Linked DNA regions of Homo sapiens: regions 2 and 3 are each linked to region 1. Evidence: promoter capture Hi-C in human tissues and cell types (Jung and others, 2019). All regions are on one chromosome and are shown on one strand. The core of a region is centred on a gene start or on the middle of the fragment in contact, and the rest is flanking DNA. Distances in the headings are between cores, read along the strand shown.

The links. Contacts are between HindIII fragments. The study calls those that stand out against the background at their distance.
Region 2: a contact is called between a fragment that was not itself captured here and the fragment with the promoter of LHPP in region 1, in 1 of the 25 tissues and cell types used here (IMR-90 fibroblasts).
Region 3: a contact is called between a fragment that was not itself captured here and the fragment with the promoter of LHPP in region 1, in 1 of the 25 tissues and cell types used here (spleen).

What each region holds. Positions count from the first base shown.
Region 1 is chr10:124,459,702-124,464,625 of GRCh38, forward strand. LHPP (phospholysine phosphohistidine inorganic pyrophosphate phosphatase) reads left to right here and starts at 2,122. Exons shown (of 7, transcript NM_022126.4): 1 at 2,122-2,286. The coding sequence starts at 2,162. RefSeq lists a silencer at 2,002-2,461 and enhancers at 3,978-4,478, 4,479-4,924. The HindIII fragment of the contact is 8,477 bases long and covers 623-4,924 here.
Region 2 is chr10:124,845,555-124,850,478 of GRCh38, forward strand. No RefSeq gene overlaps it. Among named protein-coding and RNA genes, the nearest start is that of ABRAXAS2, 46 kb to the left of the region's middle. The HindIII fragment of the contact is 5,094 bases long and covers 1-4,700 here.
Region 3 is chr10:124,777,429-124,782,352 of GRCh38, forward strand. The region is part of intron 3 of EEF1AKMT2 (EEF1A lysine methyltransferase 2); the gene reads right to left. Among named protein-coding and RNA genes, the nearest start is that of EEF1AKMT2, 12 kb to the right of the region's middle. The HindIII fragment of the contact is 3,768 bases long and covers 1,451-4,924 here.

The sequences.
Region 1 (4,924 bases), core at 872-3,371:
CTGACTCTGACTCTCTCCTGCTTCCCTCTTTCCCTTATGAGGACTCATGTCATTATACTGGGCCCACCTGGACCATCCAGGATAATCTCCCTACAGGAGCATAGGCTCTGCAAGATCTAAGTCCCTTTTGCCATGTCAGGTAATATATTTAGAGGTTGTGGGGATTGGGAGGTGGACATCTCAAGGGGGCACTATTCTGTCTACTGTAGTCGTAGAAATGAAAAGGGACTTGCCCAAGAGTACCCACAGAGCTGACTGAAAAGAAACAACTATGGGTAGGCTCACACCACTGGCAGAAGCACCCCTTTTCCTCCTCCTTGGCATGAAGCTAAAGCCCAGCCATTCTCCAAGGTCCATTTCAGGCTGCCCCTGCCCAGAAGCCACAGCTGCCCTCCTAGGCCTGCAGAGGTCATCCTCTTGACTGTGTCTGTGTCACTCATTGCCACTTGGCACACATTTGGTCAGCAGTCGTGAAGGTCTTCCATTGTTCTCTGCCCAGTCTTGATCCTGGAAGGCAAGGATCACACCCTAGAACTTTTTTGTGCCCACTGCACAGAGTAGGGTCTCAATACGTGTACGGTTCATGATGTTCCTAGCAGATTCTCCAAACTGACTCACTCAGCCCCTGGAACACTAAAAACTGCATTTCCCAGACTCCTTTGCAGCGTGGGCTAGGTTCCACCAAGCCAGACACAGTGAAAGTGAGTGGGTGGCCACAGGTGGAGGGCACAGTGGTGGATATGTTTTGTTCTTTTGGGGGCAGCTATGCTGGGGGCTGCACTAAGTGATGGGGCAGTGGTCCCAATGGAGTAGTAAAATTAAGTGTTTCTCGTGGCTGCATGGCTCCTGGCTGTGTAGGACTTAGACCCGTCATCTGTAAGCTCCTTCACCTCATGTAAACAAAACCCCTCTAGCTGGAGTGGTGTCTATTGTCTGCGACTAAGAACCCTTATATAAGGTATACTACTCCCCAACCCCATTAGTGGAAATCCCAAAGGGTAGGAACTGTATTTTATTTCACTTGTAAACAGCTCCCCTAGTAAGCATGTCAACAAAATATACACAATTCATTGAACCCCATAACATTTCAACGAATTCCTCATCCTTTCTGTGAATCAAGAGCCTGAAAAGAAATGGTGAAATAATATGATCCTCTCTTCTTTGAAAGCTCAAAGCTATGTTGGACCAGAAGTAAAGTGTTCTCGTTTCTATTTAATAACTTGAAAGGTTCCGAGGGGCCATTGAGGAAACTCCTCCCTTTTAATATCAATGTGTATTTATTGCAAAAATAATGTAGCATCGAGTGGTATTTTATAGCTTATCCAAAAACCTCCTGGGTTTAACGCATTGTGATAGTCCCGTTTTCTTCTCAGCCCAGGTCCTATGCATCCTCATCTATGCAGGGCTGTTATCTGCATATAATTTTTTTTTTTTTTAAGACAAAGTCTTGCTCTGTCGCCCCGGCTGGAGTGCAGTGGTGCAATCTCGGCTCACTGCAACCTCCGCCTCCCAGGTTCAAGCGGTTCTTCCGCCTCAGCCTACCGAGTAGCTGGGACTACAGGCATGCGCCACCACACCTAGGTGATTTTTGTATTTTTAGTAGAGACAGGGGTTTCACCATGTTGACCAGGCTGGTCTCGAACTCCTGATCTCAAGCGATCCACCCGCCTCAGCCTCCCAAAGTGCTGGGATTACAGGCATAAGCCACTACGCCCGGCCTCAATTTTGTATTGTACTTTTTCTTTCTTTCTTTAATAGAGACAGGGTCTCACTATGTTGACTAGGTTGGTCTAGAACTCCTGGGCACAAGCTGTCCGCCCGCTTCTGCCTCCCAAAGTGCTGGGATTGCAGGCGTGAACCACCGCCCCTGGCTACAGGTGCCTTCTTGTCTCAATTTGCCTTTGACCTTTCTTAGGGACTTGTTTTCTGCTTTTCCTGCTCTTTGTCCGCTGATCTCCTGGGAAGAAAGCTTCCGAAAAGGACACCGTTTCAGGGGCGAGTGACGCCGGGGTGCCCAGGCCGCGCCCCAGTTCCGGGTTTGCACCCGGTCTTCTTGCCCTGCCCCGCCCGCGGGACTACAGTTCCCAGGCGCCCCTGCGCGGCCGCGGCGCCGGCGCCGGCGTCGGTTGGGACGCGGAGCTGAGGAGCAGGGCCGGGCGCCATGGCACCGTGGGGCAAGCGGCTGGCTGGCGTGCGCGGGGTGCTGCTTGACATCTCGGGCGTGCTGTACGACAGCGGCGCGGGCGGCGGCACGGCCATCGCCGGCTCGGTGGAGGCGGTGGCCAGGTGAGTGGGCCCCGGGACGCCGCTGGGGCCGCCGAGCTCTAAGCTCAGCCCGCTCCCTGGCTGCCGGCAGGGGGCGGGGCGGCAGGGGGCGGGGCCGCGGCGCAGGCCCCGCCTCGGTCTCCCCCTTCCCACCCCGGTGCGCGCACAGTGCTGACCACGGACGACCCCACTGTTGCCCCCGGCGAGCACCAGGACTCTGCTGGTTAGGGCTGCGCGGTCAGACAGGGCGGCCACCTGGTACGTGCGCTGCTGAGCGCTTGACCTGCGGCCAGTCTGAATTGAGATGTGCTGTAAGCGTAAAATGCATACCGATTAACAAGACTTAGCCGGGCGCGGTGGCTCGCATCTGTGATTCTAGCACTTGCAGAGGCAGAGGAGGGAGGATCGCTTGAGGCTAGGGGGTTGGAGACCACCCTGGGCAACATAGGGAGACCCCGTCTCTGCCAAAAATTTAAAAATTAGCCGGGTGTGGTGGTGCACGCCTGTAGGCCCAGCCACTTGGGAGGCTGAGGCAGGAGGATCGCTTGAGCCCAGGAGGTCAAGGCTACAGTGAGCTGTGATCACCCCACTGTACTCTAGCCTGGACTGCAGAGCGAGACGGTCTCATAAACAAAACCCCCAAAAACACCAGACTTCGTGAGTAAAATGTAAAATAAAAACATGAAAATGGGTTATGTTGTTTGCCTGTTGAAATGATATACTTTTTGTTTGTTTTGTTTTGTTCTTTTCAGATGGAGTCTTGCTCTGTCGCCCAGGCTGGAGTGCAATGGCACGATCTCGGCTCACTGCAACCTCCGCCTCCCGGGTGCAAGTGATTCTCCCCCTTCAGGCTCCCGAGTAGCTGGGATTACAGGCACCCGCCATCATGCCCAGTTACTTTTTTTATTTGTTTTGTTTGAGACGGAGTTTTGCTCTTGTTGCCCAGGCTGGAATGCAGTGGTGCAATCTCTGCTGACTGCAACCGCCGCCTCCCAGGTTCAAGCGATTCTCCTGCCTCAGCCTCCTGAATAGCTGGAATTACAGGCATGTGCCACCACACCCGGCTAATTTTTTGTATTTTTAGTAGAGACGGGGTTTCACCATGTTGGGCAGGCTGGTCTCTAACTCCTGACCTCAGGTGATCCACCTGCCTCGGCCTCCCAAAGTGCTGGGATTATAGGCGTGAGCCACATGCCCAGTTGATAATATTTTTAATATACTGTTTTAGGTTAAAATATTTGAAATTAAGTATACCTTTTTTTTTTAACTTTTGTTAATGTGCTTATTAGAAAACTTTAAATTACCTTTGTGGCTCTCATTATAATTCTGTTGGACTGCATTGGTTTAGGTGAGAGGAGGAGGAAGAGAACATCGTGCCAGCCAAGACTTGACCATGAGGACACTTTTTTTTTTTTGAGACAGTTTTGCTCTTGTTGCCCAGGCCGGAGTGCAGTGGCGCCATCTGGGCTCACTGCAACCTCTGCCTCCCAGGTTCAAGTGATTCTCCTGCCTCAGCCTCCCAAGTATCTGGGATTACAGGCACCCGCCACCACGCCCAGCTAATTTTTGTATTTTTGGTAGACATGGGGTTTCACCATACTGGCTAGGCTGGTCTCGAACTCCTGACCTCAACTGATCCACCTGCCTGGGCCTTCTAAAGTGCTGGGATTACAGGCGTGAGCCACCGCACCTGGCTGACACTTTTCTTTGTATAATTTTTTTTTTTGAGACAAGGTCTCATTATGTTGCCAGGGTGGTCTTGAACTCCTTGGCTCAGGCAGTCCTCCTGCCTTGGTCTCCCAAAGTGCTAGGATTACAGGCATGAGCCACCACACCTGGCCTAATTTTTTTTTCTTTTTTTTTTTTTTTTTTTGAGACAAGGTCTTACTTTGCCACCCAGGCTGGAGTGCAGTGGTTCAATCTCACTGCAACCTCTACCTCAAGGGCTCAAGAGATCCTCCCACCTCAGCCTCCCAAGTAGCTGGAACTACAGGCACGTGCCACCATGCCCAGCTAATTTTTTTGTGTTTTTTGTAGAGATGGGGTTTTGCCATGTTGCCCAGGCCGGTCTTGAACTCCTGGGCTGAAGTGATCTGCCTGCCTCAGCTCCCAGAGTTCTGGGATTAGAGGTGTGAGCCACTGTGGCCAGCCAGAAGGACACTTTCAGTAGCATGGTTGGCACCACTGGACCTGGGCTTTGTAAGGCCTCCTGTTGGCATCCCAGGTCAGCACTGCCATGTGTTGATAGGCAGCCGGGAAGGGCTAACTGCCAGGACTTGGCCTCCCGGAGTCACTAGCTGAGGCACCCTGGCTTGGTAGCCTGATGTCACTGGGACTCAATATACCTATCTGTAGGTGGCAATTAACTGAGTCTCTTGGTCCTTCTTAGAGACCCCATTCTACCAATCTGCATGTCTGATGTCTGGGAGCTGCTGAGATAATAGGGACCCAAACGGTCCCGCATAGTGAAGCCGGAGGTGTTTGGGAGGCTGGGAACTGGGAACAGGGAGACTTGGCTTCCAGGAGCAAGCACAAAGGGCAGCCCAGACCTAGGACACTCCGCTGGGTCCTGGGTCTGCTCTCAGTGTTGGCTGAAGTTCAGGGTTAAGTGCATTCCTGACCTTATTCTCCATTACTCCAAAGCTTTAGACTAGCTCAG
Region 2 (4,924 bases), core at 904-3,403, 390 kb after region 1:
TGTGAGCCGAAATCTCACCACTGCACTCCAGCCTGGGTGACAGAGCGAGACTCCATCTCAAAAGAAAAAATTTTTTAAATTTTTTGTAGAAATGAGGTCTCACTATGTTGCCCAGGCTGGTCTCTAGCTCCTGGGCTCAAGCGATCTGCCCACCTCAGCCTCCCAAAGTGCTGGGATTACGGGTGTGAGCCACCGCATTCAGCCCATGCCACAGTTTTCCTCCGGTTTCACAACTGCATGGTATTGACTGAGGGGTTCCAAGCTCCTGGGTGCATGGACATGTTCGTGTGCATCGATGACCTGGGCGACTCTGTGGTCCTGCCTGGCCGTCAGCAGCATGGACGCATGGCCGCCATCCTCATCCTCATTCTCCAGTTGACATTTCTAAAAATGACCTCCGGTGATGAAGTCCATGGGACCAGCAGCATTTTGAAAGTAAGGATGAGTTTCTTGGACAGTAGCCACTCGTGAGGGTGACCAACTGTCTTGGTTTGCCAGGATCCTCCTGGTTTTAGCATTGACATCTCCAGGTCCTGGAAACTCCTCTAGATGGTTGGTCACCTGACCTCTGTGTAAACTGAATCCAAGGATCCAAATCAAATGGTATTAAGGGAATGGTGGTTTTGTAGGACGCCGTCCACCCTGCTATAGTAGCTTGTTTTTCCCCCGGGAGACATTGGCAAAGCCTTGTAGCATCCTGGGCCATCCAGGCCAGTACAACTCTATGTTCAGTGTAATCACTTACAGGCTTTACAGACGAGAAGAACTGAACACTCCTGGATGAACAGCGACTGTGGCTTAAAGAAGAACCACAGGGGAGAAATCCACTGGGAGGGTGTGGCAGGAGGCGAGGAAACCAGAGCTGGCCTCCTCAAAATGCCTTAAGCCAGTGTGTCCTCCAAGTAATGGGGGCCATCCCTCCTGCCACGGGGTGTTCTGTAAGAGCAGACTTCCCATCCTCTTTCCTTTCAGAGCGGAGGGACTATCTCTGCTCCCCACCACTTCCCCAGGCCATCAGCTTTGGTCCAGCTGGAAGGATTGATTCCCTGTCCATTCAGCCCTGGCTTCTCTCCTGAGCCCCTTTTCCCCAAGCACACCTCTGTCCCGGGGAAACACCAAGATTCTCTGTACACACTCACTCGCTGTCCAGTGGTGATGGAGACCCGCATTCTGGTGTGGTGACCTCAGGAGATTCCTGGCCCTCCATCCCAGGTCTGGGAAGTAGCTTACAACAGTGGGCTTTGGAGTCAGACTCACCTGGGGCTTGAATTTCAGCCCTGCCATTTCCATAACTGTGTGCCCTGGGCAAGTTACTCAACCTTTCTGAGCCTCATCTATAGGTACAGTAAATATGGATGGATGGTAATACTTTTTTCGTAGGATATTGAAGGATTATGTGAGTTAGAGTGTAGAAGCCTTAAAACAAGCCTGGAAGACAATAAACTCTGATAAGTTGTGGCTACTGTTGTCTTGAACTAAGTCTTCTTCCAAGAGGCATTGTTTTATAGACCAGAGGTCAACTGGTGTTGTAAGCTTAGGACTGCTGTGCTCAGACCTTCTTTTCAGGTGGGGCCCCACGAAGGAGGCTGGGGATCATTGTGGGAAACACGGGGGGATCAGGCCACCTCTTCCTCATTTTATCTGTTGATTAGATTGGGCTTTGGGCAAACTTTGCTCAGAAAAATTTTATTTTATTTTTTTGCGACGGAGTTTCGCTCTTTCACCCAGGCTGGAGTGCAGTGGCGTGATCTCGGCTCACTGCAACCTCTGACTCCCGGGTTCAAGTGATTCTCCTGCCTCAGCCTCCCAAGTAGCTGGGACTACAGGCACCTGCCACCACACCCAGCTAATTTTTGTGTTTTTAGTAGAGACGGGGTTTCACCATGTTGGTCAGGATGGTCTTGAACACCTGACCTCGTGAACCACCCGCCTCGGCCTCCCAAAGTGCTAGGATTACAGGCGTGAGCCACCACGCCCAGCCCAGAAAAATTTTAAAAGGTCATATAACCACATGGCCGGGTGTGGTGGCTCATGCCTGTAATCCCAGCACTTTGGGAGGCCGAGGCGGGCAGAACACTTGTGGTCAGGAGTTTGAGACTAACCTGGCCAACATGGTGAAACCCCATCTCTACCAAAAATATAAAAAATTAGCTGGGCGTGGTGGCAAGTGCCTGTAATCCCACCTACTCAGGAGGCTGAGGCAGGAGAATCACTTGAATCTGGGAGGCGGAGGTTGCAGTAAGCAGAGATCACACCACAGCACTCCAGCCTGGGTGACAAAGGGAGATTCTGTCTCAAAAAAAAAAAAAAAAAAAAGGAACTGCACTATTTAGTACAGGAGCCAGCAGTCAGTCACACGTTGCTACTGAGCACTTGAAACGCAGCTAGCAAGGCGAAAGAATTGAGGTTTTTTTGAGGCAGCATCTTGCTGTCACTCAGGTTGGAGTATAGTAGTGCAATCATGGCTCCCTGCAGCCTCGACCTCGTGGGTTCAAATGATCCTCCTACCTTAGCCTCCTATGCAGCTGGAACTACAGACATGTGCCACCATGACTGGCTAATTTAAAAAAGAAAAATTTTGGCCGGGTGTGGTGGCTCACGCCTGTAATCCCAGCACTTTGGGAGGCCGAGGTGGGTGGATCACCTGAAGTCAGGAGTTCGAGACCAGCCTGGCCAACATGGTGAAACCTTGTCTCTACTAAAACTACAAAAGTTAGCCGGGCATGCTGGTGGGCACCTGTAATCCCAGCTACTCGGGAGGCTGAGTCAGGGAGAGTTGCTTGAACCCAGGAGGTGGAGGTTGCAGTGAGCTGAGATGGTGCCACTGCACTTCAGCCTGGGGGAGAGACCCTGTTTTGTAAAAACGGGGGTCTTGGGGCCAGGCGCAGTGGCTCACGCCTGTTATCCCAGCACTTTGGGAGGCCGAGGCGGGCGGATCACGAGATCAGGAGTTCGAGACCAGCCTGACCAACATGGTGAAACCCCGTCTCTACTAAAAATAGAAAAATTAGCAGGGTGTGGTGGCGTGCGCCTGCAATCCCAACTACTCGGGAGGAGGATGGCTTGAACCTGGGAGGCAGAGGTTGTGGTGAGCCGAGATCGAGCCATTGCACTCCAACCTGGGTGACAGAGCAAGACTCCGTCTCGAAAACAAACAAACAAACAAAGAAAAAAACGAGGTCTCAATTTGTTGCCCAGGTTGCCCTTGAACTCCTGGCCTCAAGCGATCCACCCCCCCTTCCGATCCACCGCCACCTCTCAAAGTTCTGGCATTACAGGTGTGAGTCACTGCACCTGGCCCAAGTTTTAAATTTCATTCAATTTTAATTCATTTAAATCTAGATTTAAGAAGCTGCATGCCATATGGCTAATGGTTACCAAATTGGATGACATAGGATGCTGACCCCTCATTTCACAAAGAGGGAACAACCGAGGCAAGAGTAGCATGATGATGGGCCCAAGGTCACAAAGCCACTGAAAGACCCAGAGCCCAGGCCTCCTGCCTCCTCTTACAGCTGTGTCTGCTCCAGACCATGACGGGCTTGGAGAATGTCAGCACAGGAAAGGATAGTAGAGATCCTCTCCGGCAACATTTGTCCCAGATTGAAATAAACAAAGGACAGGCTGGAGCATTTGCTCTGGGCCCCACGGGGCTTGGCATCCTGCTCAGGAAGCGTGGCTGTCCTCAGCCCAGCCTGGGACGCTCTTCACAGTGTCCTGGCACCTTGGATGCAGACAGGCCAGAGCGGGAAGCATAAGGGGAGCTCGCCTGGGGCAGCTGCAATCTCGGTGACCCTTGTCCTGACAAGCACACTCCTCCCCCTGCTCAGGACGTGACAGGGAAGGCTGCATCAAGCAGAAGCCAACCTCATTTCTGCAGCTCATCCACACCTTCCACTTGCTCAGTCCTCGGCCTGCCTGCTCAGAGGTACCCAGGTGGAGGATCAAATTAATCCCCTTCTTCATCCGGAGGCTGGCATTCAAATCTCCACCCACCCAGGGAGAGTGGGCACAGAGTTATGGGCGAGGCTGAGTGACATCCAAGCCCTCAGGAGAAAGAGGATGGCGAGAGAGAGCCCTGGCACCTTGCTCTAGCCATCTGCTGCCGACCCGGCCTGAGTGCACTGTGCCTGAGCAGACGCTGGGAGAGGGTGCTCCAGGCACCTGGAGAGCAGGTGGGACTCATGTGCAGCCCCGTTTTGTTAGCATCTTCTCTCCCTCCTTCACTCTTTCTCTCTGTTCTCCAACCCTCCCTCTCTCCCCACCCCTTCACTCCCCTTCTCTTTTGTTCGAGTAAATTTTTATCAAGGTGTAACATATATACAAAAAAGGACACAAATCATAAATGTATAGCTTGTCAGATTTTCACAAAGTGAACATACCTATGTGACTGGCACGAACATTAAGAAACAAAACATTGGCCGGGCTTGGTGGCTCATTCCTGTAGGCCCAACACTTTGGGAGGCTGAGGCAGGTGGATCACCTGAGGTCAGGAGTTGGAGACCAGCCTGACCAACATGGCGAAACCCCGTCTCTACTAAAAATACAAAAATTAGTATTTTTGTATTTGGGTGTGGTGGTGCGTGCCTGTAATCCCAGCTGCTTGGGAGGCTGAGGCATGAGAATTGCTGGAACCCGGAGATGGAGGTTGCAGTGAGTCGAGATCACAGCACTTTGGGAGGCTGAGGCAGGCAGATCACCTGAGGTCAGGAGATCAAGACCATCCTGACCAACATGGTGAAACCCCATCTCTACTAAAATACAAAAAAAAAAAAAATATTAGCCGGGCGTGGTGGTGCATGCCTGTAGTCCCAGCTACTTGGGAGGCTGAGGCAGGGGAATTGCTTGAACCTGGGAGGCGGAGGTTGGAGTGAGGCCAGATCACACCACTGCACTCCAGCCTGGCGACAGAGCAGCCGGGCGG
Region 3 (4,924 bases), core at 2,085-4,584, 320 kb after region 1:
CTTATTACTCCTAGGCTACACACCTGTACAGCATTTTACTGTACCGAATACTGGAGGCAACTGTAGCACGATGGTATCTGTGTACCTAAAGATTTTTTTTTTTTTTTTGAGACAGGGTCTCACTCTTGTAAGTCAGGCTGGAGTGCAGTAGCACAATCATGGCTTACTGCAGCCTTGCCTCCTGGCTCAATCAATCCTCCCACCCCAGCCTCTCAAGTAGCTGGATAGGCTCATGCCACCACCATGCCTGGTTAATTTTTGTTTTTTTGTTTTTTGTTTTTTTTTGTAGAGACAGGGTTTCGCCAGGCTGCCCAAGCTGGTCTTGAACTCCTGAGCTCAAGTTATCCACCTGCCTTGGCCTCCCAAAGTGCTGGGATTACAGGCATGAGCCACTGTGCCCAGCCCTAAAGATATCTGTACATAGAAAGGGTAAAAATACAGTATTATAATCTTATAGGACCACCATTGTATATGTGGTACATTTCAACTGAAACATTGTTATGTAGTGTATGACTATATATACATACACACACACACAACCCTCTATATCCACAGGGGTTCGAGACCAGCGTGGCCAACATGGTGAAACCCCATCTCTACTAAACACACAAAATTAGCCAGGCGTGGTGGCGGGTGCCTGTAATCCCAGCTACTTGGGAGGCTGAGGCAGGAGAATCGCTTGAACCCAGGAGTTGGAGGTTATAGTGAGCTCCGGAGTTGGAGGTTATAGTGTGTATGTATAGACAATTTTAACACACAGTCTATACATACACACACACACACACATACATACACACAAACATATATGTATACCCAATCCATATGTGGAATCTGAGAGGAAAGGAAATGAGAATAGGGCAGAAGAAAAAATGGCATATGGCTAAGAATACTCCAATAGTGACAAAGGACCCAAGCCTCAGATTCAAGAAACAGTATAAATTCAAGGCAGATGAAAGCAAACTCCACCTAGACACATCATAGTGTATCTGATGAAAAACAAAAACAGAAAAATCAGCTCAGCATGGTGGCTTATGCCTGTAATACCAGCACTTTGGGAGGCCAAGGCAGGCGGATCACCTAAGGTCAGGAGTTCGAGACCAGCCTGGCCAATATGGTGAAACCCCGTCTCTACTAAAAATACAAAAATTAGCCAGGTGTGGTGGCACATGCCTGTAATCCCAGCTACTCGGGAGACTGAGGCAAGAGAATCACTTGAACCCCGGAAGCAGAGGTTGCAGTGAGCAGAGATGGCACATGGCACTCCAGCCTGGGTGACGGCGTGAGACTCCGTACCAAAAAAAAAAAAAAAGAAAAACAGAAAAATCTCAAAAACATCCAGGGAGTAGGGATGTGGGATACAAGGCGACAGATTACCTTTAAAAGGATGATGATAAGGCTTATAGCTAACAATAAGTGATAAAGAATGGAAGCCAGAAGATAGTAAAAGAAAAATAGTAACCTAAAATGATATAGCAAAAACATCCATCAAAAATGTAGGAAAAGTAACCATCAAAAATGTAGCTGATCAATGAAAAAGTAGTACGTATAAGAAATGGTCTTCAATGGCTGTTAATATAACAAAAAGATGAATGTTCTACACCAAATATTCTACGCCACATATGCAAATATACACCAACACCTAATAAGTTTACTTGCCAAAAAAAAAAATCTAATAAAAATCTCTCAATCCAGGGTCAGCAATCTTTTTCTTTTTTTTATGGAAACAGGGTTTCCTTCTGTCACCCAGACTGGAATGCAACAGCGTGATCACAGCTCACTGCAGCCTCAACCTCCCCAGGCTCAAGCGATTCTCCCACCTCAGCCTCCTGAGTAACTGGAATTACAAGGACACACCACGACACCTGGCTATTTTTCTGTGTCTTTAGTAGACACGGGGTTTCACCATGTTGCCCAGGCTGGTCTCAAACTCTTGAGCTCAAACAAACCTTCCACCTTGGCCTCCCAAAGTGCTGGGATTATAGGTGTGAGCCACCATGCCCAGCCAGCAACCATTTTCTATAAAGAAACAGAATAGTGGCTGGGCGCAGTGGCTCACGCCTGTAATCCCAGCACTTTGGGAGGCCGAGGCGGGTGGATCACGAGGTCAGGAGATCGAGACCATCCTGGCTAACACAGTGAAACCCCGTCTCTACTAAAAAAATACAAAAAATTAGCCGGACGTGGTGGCGGGTGCCAGTAGTCCCAGCTACTCAGGAGGCTGAGGCAGGAGAATGGTGTGAACCTGGGAGGTGGAGCTTGCAGTGAGCCAAGACTGCACCACTGCACTCCAGCCTGGGCGACAGAGCGAGACTCCATCTCAAAAAAAAAAAAAAAAAAAAAAAGAAACAGAATAGTCAGGCGTGGTGGCTCACGCCTGTAATCCCAGCACTCTTGGAGGCCAAGGTGGGTGGATCCTGAGGTCAGGAGATCGAGACCATCCTGGCTAACAGAGTGAAACCCCGTCTCTACTAAAAAATACAAAAAATTAGCCAGGCGTGGTGGCGGGCACATGTAGTCCCAGCTACTCGGGAGGCTGAGGCAAAAGAATGGTGTGAACCCAGGAGGCAGAGCTTACAGTGAGCCAAGATCACACGCCACTGCACTCCAGCACTCCAGCCTGGGCGACAGAGCAAGACTCTGTCTCAAAAAACAAAAAGAAACAGAATAAATATTTTAGGCTTTGCCAGCCATACAGTCTCTGTTACAACCAGTCAACTCTACCAATGCAACACTTAAGCTGCCATAGACAATATGCAAATGAATAAATGTGGCTGTATTCCAACAAATATTTATAAAAACAAAGGAGGTCCAGATTTGACCCGTAGACTGTGGTTTGCTGACCCTTAATTTAGGTCTAATTTCCAACGTACAGACAACACGAGGGACAGAAAACATGTTAAATACTATAGAGATGTAATTAGAAAATTCACATTGTGAAAAACCATTCAGACAAATGAACTACCTCCTACAAAAAATAAATCGTAATGGTAAATAAAGAAATCATGCAGTAAAAAATTAAGACATGTCAGCCAATTGCAATGTGTGGACTTAACAGCAAAATGAAGGTGACAGAGAAAAAGTCAGTGAATCTGAAGACAGATCAATTGAAATATAACATTTGGCCGACAAAGACAAAAATGACTTTTAAAAAATTGAACCTGTGGAGTTCACGGGGACCTGTGGAGCAACAGAAAAATTGACATTTCATGTGTATAGACTCCCAAAATGAAAGGAGAAAGACAGTAATACAGAAAAAAAAAATAGAAAAAACAAAAGCTAGAAATATCGCAAATCTGGCAAAAGACATAAGCTTACAGATGTAAAAAGTTCAGTGAACACCAAATAGGATAAGCCAAAGAAATCCAAGCCACAGCACACATCATAAGCAAACTGCAAAAAACAAAAGACAAAGAAAAAAAATCTTAAAAGCATCTAGAAAAATGATGCATTCATAGGAAAACAACAATTCAAATGACTGCAGATTCCTCATGAGAAAACATGGAAGTCAAAAACAAGTGACGTAACTTTTTTTTTTTGAGACGGAGTCTTGCTCTGCTGCCAAGCTGGAATGCAGTGGCGCGATCTTGGCTCACTGCAACCCCCGCCTCCCGGGTTCAAGCTATTCCCCTGCCTCAGTCTCCTGAGTAGCTGGGACTACAAGGGCATGCCACCACGCCCGGCTAATTTTTTGTATTTTAGTAGAGATGGGGGTCCACCATGTTGGCCAGGATGGTCTCGATCTCCCGACCTCGTGATCTGCCCGCCTCGGCCTCCCAAAATGCTGGGATTACAGGCGTGAGCCACCGTGCCCAGCCCATAACATTTTTAAAGTACTGAAAGAAACGGCTAGCTCAGAATTCTATATTCAGGCCGGCTGCGGTGGCTCACGCCTGTTATCCCAGCACTTTTGAAGGCTGAGGCAGGCAGATCATCCGAGGTCAGAAATTCGAGACCAGCCCGGCCAACATGGTGAAACCCCATCTCTACTAAAAACACAAAAAGTAGCCGGGTGTGGTGGTGGACACCTATAATCCCAGCTACTCGGGAGGCTGAGGCAGAAGAATCAATCGCTTGAACCCAGGAGGCGAAGGTTGCAGTGAGCCGAGATTGTGAGATTGTGCCACTGCACTCCAGCCTGGGTGACAGAGTGAGACTGTGTCTCAAAAAAAAAAAAGATTCTATATTCAGCCAAAAAAAAAAAAAAAACACTCCTTAGGAATGAAGGTGAAATAAAGCTATTCTCAGGTAAAGGAAAACAAAAAAAATTTGTTGCAAGAAAACCCTCTCTAAAATAATTTCCAAGAAGAATTTCTTAGACAGAAAGAAAAAAAAAAAGCTCAGGAGATCCAGAATACAAAGGTGAAATAAATATCTAGGTGAATATAATTAAATATTCTTCTCCTAGTGCATTCCTTAAAATGTTTGAAAAAAATCATAATATTATCTAATGGAATTTTCAACATAAAGGTAATAGTAAAGACAACTACAACATAAAGGTGAAAGATCAAGAACCCAACATGATAAGGTTTTCACATTCCACTTATAGTGGTAAAATACTGATTCCAAGGAGATTTTGACAACTATATATATTGTAATCTACACAGGAACCACTAGAAAAGCCACACCAAAAGACACAGTCAACTGCTTAAAGCAACCACTAAAACAGCCATACGCAAAGAGATATATTCAAGAAGATACACATAAATTAAAATGAAATACTAACAAATGTTCAAATAAACCAACACCAGCAGGAAAGGAAAAAGAGAAGAATAAAAAACAGAGGTAAGGCCAGGCACAGTGGCTCAAGCCTGTAATCCCAGCACAAAGGGAGGCTGAGGCGGGCAGATCACCTGAGGTCAAGAGTTCAAGACCGGCCGGGTGCGGTGGCTCACGCCTGTAATCCCAGCACTTTGGGAGGCCGAGG